2 separate regions of the Homo sapiens genome follow, and region 1 is linked to region 2. The links are contacts of gene promoters, found by promoter capture Hi-C in human tissues and cell types (Jung and others, 2019). All regions are on one chromosome and are shown on one strand. The core of a region is centred on a gene start or on the middle of the fragment in contact, and the rest is flanking DNA. Distances in the headings are between cores, read along the strand shown.

Region 1 (6,348 bases), core at 1-2,500, 1.9 Mb after region 2:
AATCTGCACTGCAATCAGAGGAGGGTAGGCACTATTATAATCCCCATTTTACAGTTGAGGGAACTAAAATTTAGGGAGGTTAAGTGACTTCCCTAAGTTTTAAAAAGGTCACTCGATTCTGTATGGAGAATGCTTTGGACAGAAGCTATGGTGGAAGCAGTGAGGCACATCAGGCTTTGGAAGTTGACAAGTGGTGATGATGGCCTGGACTAGAACAATAACAGGAGATGAAATGTAGACAGAATTGGGATATTGACGGAGTAGGATCAACCAACAGGCTTTGTTTATGGGTTGATGTTTGGGGCAAGGGAAAGGAAGGATTCAAGGACGACTGCCTCATGGGGGACTGAGCAAACCTAGGTATTTGGTAGTGCTACTGGTAAAGGGGAAATGGAAAGAAAAACTGTGGAGATGCTGAGAATCATGAGTTGATTTTTGGACATTTCAGTGATCAGTTTACATGTCTGTCTCCCTTTTTAAGGTCAATTCTAAAGTTAGAGACCATAATGAAACTTGGCTTTGTGTACTCCCTCTCTTTCTCCACATTTTCTCCCTGCTCACAAGGAGTCAGATGCCTAGAAATGTTGCGTGCAATAAGAAATGAAAATAAAATGCTTTAAAAAAATGTACAAAGACTGTCCTGAAGCTTCTCACTCACTCAAGCTGTGTTGGAATATAACAAGACCTTTATCCAAAGGATCAGAAATGTTGAATTCACACTCACCATTTCCGCAATTCACCTGTTCCCTTGTCTTTTCAACATCCACCCCTACTCTGCTCATTTATTATTTTTTGAGACAAGGTCTTGCTCAGTCACCCAGGCTGCAGTGCAGTGGCACGGTCATGGCTTACTGTAGCCTGGACTTCCCGGCTCAAGTGATCCTCCCACCTCAGCCTTCTGAGTAGCTAGGAATACAGGGGCCACACCACCATGCCTTGCTTATTTTTTGTATTTTTTTGCAGAGATGTGGTTTTGCCATGTTGCCCAGGCTGGTCTGGAACTCCTAGGCTCAAGCAATCCACCCACTTCGGCCACCCAGAGTGCTGGGATTATAGGTGTGAGCCACCGTGCCCAGCCAGAAATATGCTTCTTGAAGGCAGAGACCAAATGGAATTTGTTTTTGTATTCCCAGCACTTACCAGTGTCTAGTTTAATAGAACTAGGGACAAGGGTTCTATAAATTGCACCTGGGCTCCTGGCAGCATCTTTATCTAGTTCTTGAAATTTTCATGGGATTAGCTTCTTTCTCAGAATTCTGAACGAATGATTGTTTCCTTTGGATTGTTTCCTCTTTTCAGTTTTCTTTTTTTAATATATATTTTTTCCTTTTTTTTTCTGCTACCTTTGGATTCTTGATAGTGAGCTTCCAATAATTATTTCTTAACAGTATTTAAGTCTGTTTTATACATCATACTTTATACCAGCAGCAGGGCTGGTTATGCCTATACTGATATTCAGACATATATTGAAAAACTAGCCTTGTCTTTTTCTACTGTGTAAAAACCTTTATTGTCAATACATTTTACTTGTACTTAAGCTAGATTTTTTTTTTCTTTTTTTTTTTTTTGAGACGGAGTCTCACTCTGTCACCCAGGCTGGAGTGCAGTGGTGCAGTCTCAGCTCACTGCAACTTCCGCCTTCTGGGTTCCAGCGATTCTCCTGCCTTAGCCTCCTGAGTAGCTGGGACTACAGGCATGCACCACCATGCCCGACTAATTTTTTTGTATTTTTAGTAGAGGCGGGGTTTCGGTATGTTGTGCCAGGTTGGTCTCCAACTCCTGACCTTGTGATCCACCCGCCTCGGCCTCCCAAAGTGCTGGGATTACAGGCGTGAGCCACCGCGCCCTGACTAAGCTAAATATTTTAAGGCCAGTTCCTCACGTTGAAGTACACTGCTTATGGGGTCTATAGTTTAAGTACACAAAAAAATCCCAGCACTCTGGGAGGCCGAGGCAGGCGAGTCATGAGGTCAAGTAATCGAGACCATCCTGGCCAACATGGTGAAACGCTGTCTCTACTAAAAATACGAAAATTAGCGGAGCATGGTGGCGCACGCCTGTAGTCCCAGCTTCTTGGGAGGCTGAGGCAGGAGAATCGCTGGAACCCGGGAGGTGGAGGTTGCAGTGAGCCGAGATCACACCACTGCACTCCAGCCTGGCAACAGAGTGAGATTCCATCTCAAAACAAAAACAAAAACGAAAAAACCTTAAAATTTTTTTTCTTTAAAGGTATACACACAAATATAGTTCTTTCATATTCTCATGTGATGTTTGCAAATTGCTTGTTAGAACGAACAGCAGTAGTATGGAACATAAATCCCACACCTCAGTGGTGTTTTTTTTTTTTTTTTTTTTTGAGACAGAGTCTTACTCTGTTGCCCACGCAGGAGTGCAGTGGCACAATCTCTGCTCACTGCAACCTCCGCCTCCCAGGTCCAAGCCATTATCCTGCCTCAGCCTCCCAACTAGCTGGGATTACTGGTGTGCACCACTGTGCCTGGCTAATGTTTGTATTTTTAGTAGAGACGGGGTTTCACCATGTTGCCCAGGCTGGTTACAAACTCCTGAGTTCAAGTGATCCACTCACCTCAGCTTCTCAAAGTGCTGGGATTATAGACGTGAGCCACTGCGCCTGGCCTCAATGGTTTCTTTACATACCAATACTCTAGATATTAAACTACTTTTGTATTGGCCAGAGATAAAATAGATTAAATTATGTGTTGTATTGAATAACACCTGAATCAACAGTTAATACTGGCAAGTTGGAGGAGCCGTGATTTTTTTTTTAAAGTCATACTTCTTCTCTAAGCAACTTTAAATTGCTAGGGTTTTTAAAGAATATTGGGCCAAGCAAGGTGGCTCATGCCTGTAATCCCAGCACTTTGGGAGGCCAAGTTTTCTTTTTTTAATATATATTTTTTCTTTTTTTTTTTTTTTTTTTTTTTTGCTACCTTTGGATTCTTGATAGTGAGCTTCCAATAATTATTTCTTAACAGCATTTAAGTCTGATTTACACATCATACTTTATACCAGCAGCAGGGCTGGTTATGCCTGTACTAATATTCAGACATATATTGAAAAACTAGCCTTGTCTTTTTCTACTGTGTAAAAACCTTTATTGTCAATACATTTTACTTGTACTTAAGCTAAATTTTTTTTCTTTTTTTTTTTGAGATGGAGTCTCACTCTGTCACCCAGGCTGGAGCGCAGTGGTGCAGTCTCAGCTCACTGCAACTTCCGCCTTCTGGGTTCAAGTGATTCTCCTGCCTCAGCCTCCTGAGTAGCTGGGACTACAGGCATGAACCACCATGCCCAAGAAAGGAGGATCATTTGGAAAAAATATATATATATTATCTGATGGCCCACATCTGTGGTCCCAGCTACTTGGGAGGCTGACATGGGACGACTGCTTGAGCCCTGGAGGTTGTGGCTGCAGTGAGCTGTTATCAACTGCTGCACTCCAGCCTGGGCAAGAGAGTGAGAGGCCATCTGAAAGAAAAAAAAAAAAAAGGCAAGAATATACATCTATCTGTTTTCAGTTTAAAATAAAACATTTAAGTCTATATATGTTTTTTTCTTTTTTTTTGAGACAGAGTTTCACTCTGTTGCCCAGGCTAGAGTGCAATGGCATGATCTCTGCTCACTGCATCCTCTACCTCCCAGGTTCAAGTGATTCTCCTGCCTCAGCCTCCCAAGTGTCTGGTATTACAGGCACCCACCATCATGCCTGGCTAATTTTTGTATTTTGGTAGAGATGGAGGTTTCACCGTGTTGGCCAGGTTGGTCTTAAAGTCCTGACCTCAGGTGATCCACCCGCCTTGGCCTCCCAAAGTGCTGGGATTACAGGCATGAGCCATCTCGCCCGGCCTATATATATGTTTTTCTGATTCCTTCTTTAAGTTTTAGTTAATTGACTAATTACCAGCCTTGATCACGTTGGATTCCTCTGTATCTCTGCCATTTATCTTTTGAAAATTAAAAACACAAAACGAGTAAAAATTCCAAGAGGATGGAAATCATTTTTAACCCAGCTTTGTTTCCTGTCCCTCAACATTTGCCAAATTGTATTATGCAAAGTAGGTAGTTAGATTTCTGCTCAAATAATTTTCACTTTGGTTCTTAATATAACACCAAATACTGGCTGGGTGCGGTGGCTCATGCCTGTAATCCCAGCACTTTGGGAGGCTGAGGCCAGCGGATCACCTGAGGTCAGGAGTTTGAGACCAGCCTGTCCAACGTGGTGAAACCCCATCTCTACTGAAAATACAAAACTAGCCAGGCATGGTGGTGCATGCCTGTAGTCCCAGCTACCCAGGAGGCTGAGGCAGGAGAATAGCTGGAACCCAGGAGGCAGAGGTTGCAGTGAGCCAAGATTGCGCCACTGCACTCCAGCCTGAGCAACAGACTGAGGCTCCGTCTCAAAAAAAAAAAATAAAATAAATAAATAAATAAATAGACCAAATACTATATTTTTACTTTTTCCTCCGCAAGCATGTAAATCGTAATTTTACTTACAAGTGACTAAATGTCAAGAAATAAAGAAGCACACAGTTGCACAATTTGTGAGAAATAAGAATTTGGTGTTTCAGTGAGATTATCATAGAACTAGAATTTGACACGATATTTTCTTTTTTTCTTTTTTTTTTTTTTTGAGACAGAGTCTCTCTCTGTCGCCCAGGCTGGAGTGCCATGGCACGATCTTGGCTCACTGCAAGCTCTGCCTCACAGGTTCATGACATTTTCCTGCCTCAGCCTCCCAAGTAGCTGGGACTACAGGTACCCGCCACCGCGCCCAGCTAATTTTTTGTATTTTTATTAGAGACAGGGTTTCACCGTGATAGCCAGGATGGTCTGGATCTCCTGACCTCTGATCTGCCTGCCTCGGCCTCCCAAAGTGCTGGGATTACAGGTGTGAGCCACCACACCTGACCAACACGATGATATTTTCAGTTTTATTTCTAGTTATGTAATTTTCTCTATATGGGAAACTACAACTTATACATTACTGATATTCATAATATAGTGTAGCTGATCGCTCTAATTGTAACTGTATTCCCAAGATAGTGTTTATTCTAGAATTATGCTCTGTACATTTGTTCTGGAAATGACAACCATCATGAGTTTTTTAATGCCCAAAGGAGAGTACAGTAAACCCTCTGTATCCCTGAGTTCCACATTGAGCATTTAAGCACCTGTGGATTGAGACTATTCAGAAAGGGCTGGGTGTGGTGGCTCACACCTACAATCCCAGGACCTTGGGAGGCCGAGGCGAGCAGATTGCCCGTGTTCAGGAGCTCAAGACCAGCCTGGACAACATGGCGAGACCCCATCTCTACAAAAAATACAGAAATTAGCCGGGTGTGGTGGTACGTGCCTGTAGTCCCAGCTACTTGGGGGCACTAAGGCAGGAGGCCCTCCTTGAGCCCCAGGAGGTTGAGGCTGCAGTGAGCCGTGGTCTCACCATTGCACTCCAGCAGCCTGGGTGGCAGAGCAAGACCAAGAAGAGCAACACCCTGTCGGCCGGGCACGGTGGCTCACGCTTGTAATCCCAGAACTTTGGCAGGCTGAGGCGGGCGGATCATGAGGTCAGGAGATCGGGACCATCCTGGCTAACATGGTGAAACCCCGTCTCTACTAAAAAATACAAAAAATTAGCCAGGCGTGGTGGCAGGCACCTGTAGTCCCAGCTACTCGGGAGGCTGAAGCAGGAGAATGGCATGAACCTGGGAGGCAGAGCTTGCAGTGAGCCGAGATCATGCCACTGCACTCCAGCCTGGGCAACAGAGCGAGACTCTGTCTCAAAAAAAAAAAAGAAGAGCAACACCCTGTCTCTTAAAAAAAGAAGGAAAAAAAAAAAGAAAATATTCAGGAAAAAAATGGATAAATGGATGTTTGTCTGTCTGTCCCGAACATCTACAGGCTTTTTTCCCCGTCGTTAGTCCATAAACAATAAAGTATAGCAACTATTTATAGAGCCTTTACATTGTATTGGGTAGTATATGAGTCATCTATAGATGATTTAAAGTATGTGGGAGCATAGACTGTATGCAAACACTGTGCCATTTTATATCAGGGACTTGAGCATCCGTGGATTTTGGTATACTCAGGAGTCCTGGAACCAATACCCCATGAATACTGAGGGATGACTATTATATGAACAAAATCATAAGACAGTTGTATAACTTCTACTATACTTTTCCAGTACAAATAATCTTCTAATGTGTTATAATTTATTAGGAGTATCAAGAAAAATGTTTTGGGTTGGGCATGTTGGCTCATGCCTATAATCCTAGCACTTTGGGAGGCCAAGGCAGGAGGATCACGTGAGCTCAGGAGTTCGAGACCAGC
Region 2 (7,100 bases), core at 3,525-6,024:
ACTGAAGAATGTATTTCGTGGCCTTCTCAAGTTTTAAAATTTGTAAACACAACTACAGCATGTAATTTTCTCCTTCAAATTTAATAAGTATAGTATAACAAGCATTTAAATGACCTTCCTTTAAGACTTTTAACAAGCCGGCCTCTGCAGAGCGCCATGGATTCTGAGGCACTCAGGCCCCTCCCAAAGGATTAACATTAATCTTAAAGTCACATTCAAATTTGTGTCTCAGCAAAATTATAAATAATTCCATGTCACAGGGGTCAAATGTAATGGTTAAAATGGAAAGCGTTAAAATTGTGAATGCCAAGGGTATACTGTGGTTGCATAAAAAATCTTTGTTGACTGAATAAGCCAGAAGATTCTCTCCATCTCAGGTACTATCTGTAGGAAGTACAACACACAGGCTGCATTCTTGAACTGCTTTGGATTATTTTATTCGCTTGACTCTTCATCTATTTAAATGACTGGGTTCCTGGCCATGATGTTTCAAACTTAATTTCTGTCAACGTGCTCAGAATTTTTTGTTCCATGTTCTTTCGGTAAGGACCTTTGTGAATTCCAGTTTCTATCCTTAGCTGAACTGGCCATCAGCGTACTCAGTTAGGCTCAATCTATACAAATAACAGAACATGCTCTAAAATGTGCTAATTTAAAAGATATATTTCTAATTTTCCTCTGCTTTCTAAAATGATTCTGGTTAACTGAAAATGCCAATGAGTTTTCTTCAGTTAAATAAAGCTGCCTGAATATTGCATATTATAAATACGGAAAGCCACTGAAATCCTCTGAGTTGGTATCTAAGAAGGAGATACCCAAGTATTACGTTATAATGGCATCCATTGTTTTCATGTGGGTGTGTGAAAAGCCACCAAGAGGGTGATGTGCAAAGTTAGAGAATTATAAATGGTATCACAGGAGCTAAATTTGGAAGATAAAAAATACTAACTTCAGCACCAAATTAGTATGCTCTGATATGGGGGCCTTTAGCTCATCAAGAAAGTCCTCAAACTTAAAAAAAATTTTTTTTTAACCAATAACCTTAAAAACTTTTTTTTGTTTTTTGTTTTTGAGATAGGGTCTCATTTTGTCACCCAGGTTGTAATGCAGTGGTGCCATCACAGCTCACTCCAGCCTCAACCTTCTAGGCGCAAGTGATCCTCCTGCCTCAGCCCCTCAAGTAGCTGGGACTACAGGCACATGCCACGACGCTCAGCTAGTTTTTGTATCTTTTGTAAAGACAGGTTTTGCCATGTTGCTCAGGCTGGTCTAGAACTCCTGATCTCAAGCCATCTGCCTGCCTCCGCCTCCCAAAGTGCTGGGATTACAGTCATGAACCACTGCACCTGGCCTGAAGATCTTAATTGAACCACACTTGCATTTAAAGCTAATTTTTAAAAATAGCCTTGAATATATTTTCTGTATGCACTCTACCTTCTTTTTTTTTAAGAGATAACCTAGGCATGGTGCAGGGTGCTAGAGTTCCTACCCTCACTAAATAACAGGGAAACCTGGGTTTCGATCTTGGCTCTATCATTTTTAATCCATGCTAACTTTAAGCCACTTACTTCACCTCCCTGAAGCTCACATTTTTTGTCTGTAAAATGGGAATACTGTCACCTGGATCAAAGGATTAAATGGGAAACTACATAGCAAATACTTAGCACATTGCCTGGCACACAATAATTGCTTTATAAAAGGTAGCTATCATTCCTTTTTTACTTCAATGGTTACTGCTTATTGTAATCTCTTTAATTTCACTCTTTAATCTTTTCTCAAGGGTATCCATAGACCTTGATAAACCTTCAGAAATTATTTACCAATTATTTACACAGAATCTACATGGGGGAGGACAGACACACGCCAATAATTACAAGTGCTACAAATAGGAAGTATGCCATCAAATATATAACAGGGGTACTTAATTCAACGAGGCCCTGAAGAAGTGTTATTTAGACAGAGATCTGAAATATATGAAGAAATTAGCCAGGCAAAAAAGAGTGAGGCAGGCAATGGAACATATTCAACCAAGTTAAGTGTAGGAGGTTATCCTAAGGGCAAAGGAAGATACTGAGAGGGTTTCATGGAACTCTGCAATTAAAACAACTTCCGGATGCAGAGGAAAGAATGAATTTGAGAGGGTTAAGACTGAATGCAGAGAGACCAGATAAGGGGTCTTGTTGAATTCCGATTACAAAGACAGTATTCTAGTTGGACTGGAGAGAAATAGAACCTATTTAAGAAAGCTGCATTTAGGAAGCAGAATCAATAAGAGGTGGTCATAGATTGTGTGTGGGAAGGGTACTCTGGAAAGTGAATCTCAAAAATGAGAAAATGCTAAACAAAATGTGTTTTTGTTTCATAATTATAAATTTAAAACACAGCCTATTACATATTTCTGAAGCAGTACACAAAATTAAAACTTTTAGGCCATGGGAGGACTTATTCCAACCATTTGGGAGGCATGACACACCCATCTAACTTACTGAGCAACAATGCTTTTGGTATGTTGATGGGAATTCTCAATTACATTTATCTATCAACTACCAAATAAATTTTAGTATGTAATACATAGTTGCAAAGTAAAGAGGGAGTATGAGTATCAATAGAATACTTCCTTTTCCTCTGAGACATCTTTGGTTCTTAATGGAAAAAATAATTTTCCACTTTTTTACAATCCCCGGTTTCATATTTCTAAATAAATTAAGCAGGAGGATTTTATGAGCAAACTAAAATATATGTAAAGTAAACCCTGGCTTTTTGATACCCTCACTAATGAGTTGTTATGGGAAAAACTATTTCACACTTCCCTGCCTTCTTAAACTGAACACATTAAATATAATTTGCTCTTTATTGAGAACACAGGGTCCATGCTTTAGCCAATAAGGTACCAAGCTCTTATGCTCCTATAAGCTGACCTCTTTCATGGAAGGCCCTGGCTTACTTATCCTTATCAGTTCAAGAGTCACGTTTCCAGGAAGCTGTCCCCTGACCTCCCCAATCCTCTGTTCTCTGAATTCCCAAAACCCTGAACACGCCTCTATTTCACCATGAACACAGTGAATTATAATTTCGGACCAGGCATGGTGGCTCATGCCTGTAATTCCAGCACTTTGGAAGGTTGAGGTGGGCAGATACCTTGAACCCAGGAGTTTGAGACCAGCCTGGGCAACATGGTTAAACCCCATTTCTACAAAAAAAATAAGCAGGGTGCAGTGGTGCGCGCCTGTATTCCCAGCTATATGGGGAGACTGACGCGGCGAGAGGATCGCTTGAGTCCGAAAGGTGGAGGTAGCAGCGAGCTGAGAACGCGCCACTGCACTTCAGTCTGGGCCCCACAAAGCCAGACCCTGTCTCTAAATAAATAAATAATAACTTTGGTTTACTTTTCTATCTTCTTCTTAGGTTGCATGCTTCTGTAGGGCAACGGCTATGACTTTTAATTCTGCATTATTAAATGTGTAACACACTGACCCAGGGGTAAGTTGCTATTCTCAAGGTTTAGTGACCCGCATCCTTCCCCTTATATAAACAGATTTATACGGGGACAATTTCGGAATTGAATCCACTTTTAATACTTTCTCTGACTTCGCAGAAAACAGCTGGCTTTGCAGAATATATGCCTGTAGCACAATGATTATCAAGATGAGGGTAGGTGTGTTGTGTGGTTTGGCAAAGCATGTTCAGATAATTATATAAATGGTAAAAAATAAACTTTTTTTTTTTTTGAGACAGAGTCTCGCGCTGTTGCAAGGCTGGAGTGCAGTGGCGCGATCTTGGCTTACTGCAACCTCTGCCTCCCGGGTTCAAGCGATTCTCCTGCCTCAAGTAAAGCTTGACAATAACTTGGCTGCACAAATATGGGTTTTAAAAGGTTGAGAAACAGTGTTTCACACCTGCCTTTCTACACTATGTTATTAACTAATTGAATCGAGTTGGAATAAACTAGTTAGACTTGTGTGCACAATGAGTCAAATGGCTCAAATCAAAGGTCTGAGGAGCCTCCATGAACCAGGTGCTTGAGCTGTGTGATGTTAAGACTTCAGGTATACCGAGCACGCTTCATTCAGCCTTGGCTCATGAAGTCCCTACAGTCTTAGAATGGAATACCATATAACACTTCTCTGCCCATCTAAATCCCATGCAGGGTTTAAGACTCAACTTCTCCACACTCTGACCTCGTCCTGAATTCCAAGGGCAGTGAGGAGTCTATATAACAGGATATTTAATAAGTGATTACGTTCTGCTGGATGTTTTTTACTGTCTGCTTAAATCTAGCCAGTCTCAACAACAGTAGGGAGACAGGATACTCAAGCGCCAATCGAATGGAAACGGATTGTTAACAGCCTATTATAACCCTCACGTGGGAACCAGGACGTCCAAACCTGGTTAACAGAGCCCACAGAGTTCATGGGCGAAGGACTGTGACAGTCAACCTCTTGTCTGAACAAAAAGACCCACTAACGAGTGAAAAAAGACCTCCTGGGAGGGATGGGGTGGGGGAGAGGGAATTCAAACCTTCTCAACAACAAAAAGCAGCTTTCCTTAGCCCACTCCACTTTCCAGCTCAATAATTGCTACCCCTCCCGTGCGACGATTCCCTGCCCAACGTAGGAAAAAAAGAGGTCCAAAAGGTTATAGCATCACCTTTGCCCTCTGACCTAGGAGCGAAGACTCACCAGTTTCATAATGGACTTTTGGTGGTTCAATAGCAGTCACTGAACTCCTCAAACCCAGGAAGCGTCTTCCGGTGCAATCTCCGCCACCTGCCAGCCGAGAGCATCGCGGGACTTGCAGTCTTTCATCCTCACGTCCCTTCCAGGGGAATAATGGGAAATGTAGTCTCCCCTCCAGGCATCATGGGAACTGTGGTCGCCTTTCCTTTTCCTCCCTTTCCTCTCCGAACGCCTCCTTCCGTCAGCTCAAATTCATCCCAGCCGCCAATGCATCCTCCCTCTCCACCCCAGCATGATATCATGTCTTCCTTACGGGCCTGGGGCCCATGGTGTTCTGGGATGTGTAGTCCCGACGGCTCCGACTCCCCTTTCCCTCCTCCCAAAGGGAAGGCGGATGGGCACGGGGCTTGCCGGAAGTTGTAGTTCCCTTGGCCCTCTAGGCGCCGGGCTCCGCAATTTTTCTCAGGGGAGGCAGGAACTACAACTCCCAGGGACGCCCGGCGGCAGCAGGTGGGAGAGGGGCTGTTGATATCAATATGGCGGTTGTCAGCCAGACAAAGACAGTCAGTCTGATGTGATTGAGACAAGGGAGGTTTTTCAGGGGGAGACTGGGAGATAGGGGCCTCCCCTCCCCCTTCTCCTCTTCCTGCGCCGGCCTCAACCCCTCCCCAGTCCCCTCCCGACGGGCGCCCCACGCGGAAGACACCCCTCCCCCTCCCGCCTTCCCTCCTCCCTATCTCAGCCCTTCGTACTGGGACGTTGGGGAGGGGGCTGTGCCGGGCGGAGAGAACTCAGCGAGGATTCTGAGGTGAGTCGAGCGGTTTTGAAGCCGGACTACCTCAAGTCTCTTTCCTCACTTCTTTCTCTTCACTTAAAACAATTTTTTTGGAGGGGTTTTGGGGAGGAAGTGAGCGGACGCTGGGGATGGGTCTCGTAAGCGGCCGGATTGAGAGGAGGGAGGAAGCAGGGGGCTTCCGAGTGGGTGACCCAGACGCGGGCTGTGGGGTGGGGCAGTTCGTGGGGTCCGGTCCTGGAAAGGCGTCGACTGCCCCCCAACTCTTCTGGTTTCCTCTACGATGAGCGGAAGGTTTGAATCCTGGAGGTGGGGTCTCCGGTGTGGAGTTCTGGAAACTGTGAGGTGATTTGCAGGTGTGTTGGTTTGTTTGGGGTGTGTAAGTGTGTTTAAACTGTGTGACGTGTACTTGTGTGCTCTGCTCGTCTTGGAGCGGTGTCTGTAGATGGGAAGTTAGACAGCGCGAGTCCTCGCTCGCTCTGGGCCTGGGCTGAGGGGCGGGCGTGAGGTCCTGGTGCTGGGCGTTTGGGCTGGCGACGTGGTGCGAGGCGGCCGGGCTCAACAACTCGCTTGTGTCCCGTCGCCCGCTCACACTCTGCCACTCGCCTCCGCCCCCTCCCCTGGACGAATCTCCACCCCAAACTCCAGCCACGAGAACTGTAGAGATGGTGTGATGTGGAGATGGATTTTTTGCATCCTCAAGTCGGTAGATAGGTGGGAAAGGAAAAGTGTTTCTTAATATTTTATTCCGGAACCGTGTTTTGGTTACACTATTGGGGCTACTTTGAAAGGCGTCCTCCACCCACCTTCACCCCGAAACAGTAGGTAGAGGTATCTTGTCTTCGTGTGAATTAGATGAATAATTGCTGAAGATTCGGGGGGCCTGGGGTGGGGGTCGGGAGTGCTGGATTGTGTACGCGTCTGTGTGTGTCTACTAAGGAGACGGAATGTCTGTTATGTATCTGGAGATAGGGCGACTTATTTTCGTAGCAGGAGGAACTGTTGGAAATTATTTGCGGGAGAGGGGGTGCGCCGAAAGGCGCTGCTTGTATTTTTCTTCTACTCCACCCTGTTCTGTCTTGCATTTGCCTGAAAGCTGGTGGAATGGAACAGTGAAGAAGCATTGGGTGAGTAAAGGGAAGAATGCAGTTGGCATTAAAGATAACACTATGTAAAGTTGAATGGTATAAAGTGATTACTGTTTTTATTTACGCTGAAGCTTAAAAAAAATCACCCATGTATCATATAAGGTAGAGTGATGTGACTAGCTCATTTCTCTGGTATCCTGCAGGTACAGAAACCTCTGGCTTCCCTCTTCCTTCCTTCCTATCCTCCCTCCTTCCTTCCTTCCTTAAGTCCTTCCTTTCTTTCTTGGCTTCGTACAACATTTCTCTTTCTGTTGGACATAATACCGCCTGTGTCTTTTTATTTAGTTTGTGCTAATATGGTTGTGCTTTTTGTGGTTTTACCATAAAATGCATCGTTAAATGCATTTATTATTTTGCATTTATGCTGCAGGTAATTATCACATCAGGATTGCAGTGCTTTGCATTAAACTTATTTTAAAATTGTGCAATTAAGTTGCTTGATCTAGCTGAATTATGTTTCTAAGTCAAAGTTGGGAAATTTGA

The links. Contacts are between HindIII fragments. The study calls those that stand out against the background at their distance.
Region 1: a contact is called between a fragment that was not itself captured here and the fragment with the promoter of INTS9 in region 2, in 1 of the 25 tissues and cell types used here (dorsolateral prefrontal cortex).

The regions. Positions count from the first base shown.
Region 1 is chr8:30,744,973-30,751,320 of GRCh38, forward strand. All of the region lies in intron 1 of UBXN8 (UBX domain protein 8), which reads left to right. Among named protein-coding and RNA genes, the nearest start is that of UBXN8, 4.0 kb to the left of the region's middle. The HindIII fragment of the contact is 5,910 bases long and covers 1-4,205 here.
Region 2 is chr8:28,885,195-28,892,294 of GRCh38, forward strand. It overlaps INTS9 (integrator complex subunit 9), which reads right to left and starts at 4,775. Exons shown (of 17, transcript NM_018250.4): 1 at 4,680-4,775. The coding sequence starts at 4,688. It overlaps HMBOX1 (homeobox containing 1), which reads left to right and starts at 5,201. Exons shown (of 10, transcript NM_001135726.3): 1 at 5,201-5,484. RefSeq lists enhancers at 4,558-5,114, 4,754-4,953, 5,115-5,671 and a silencer at 5,324-5,443. The HindIII fragment of the contact is 5,500 bases long and covers 1,672-7,100 here.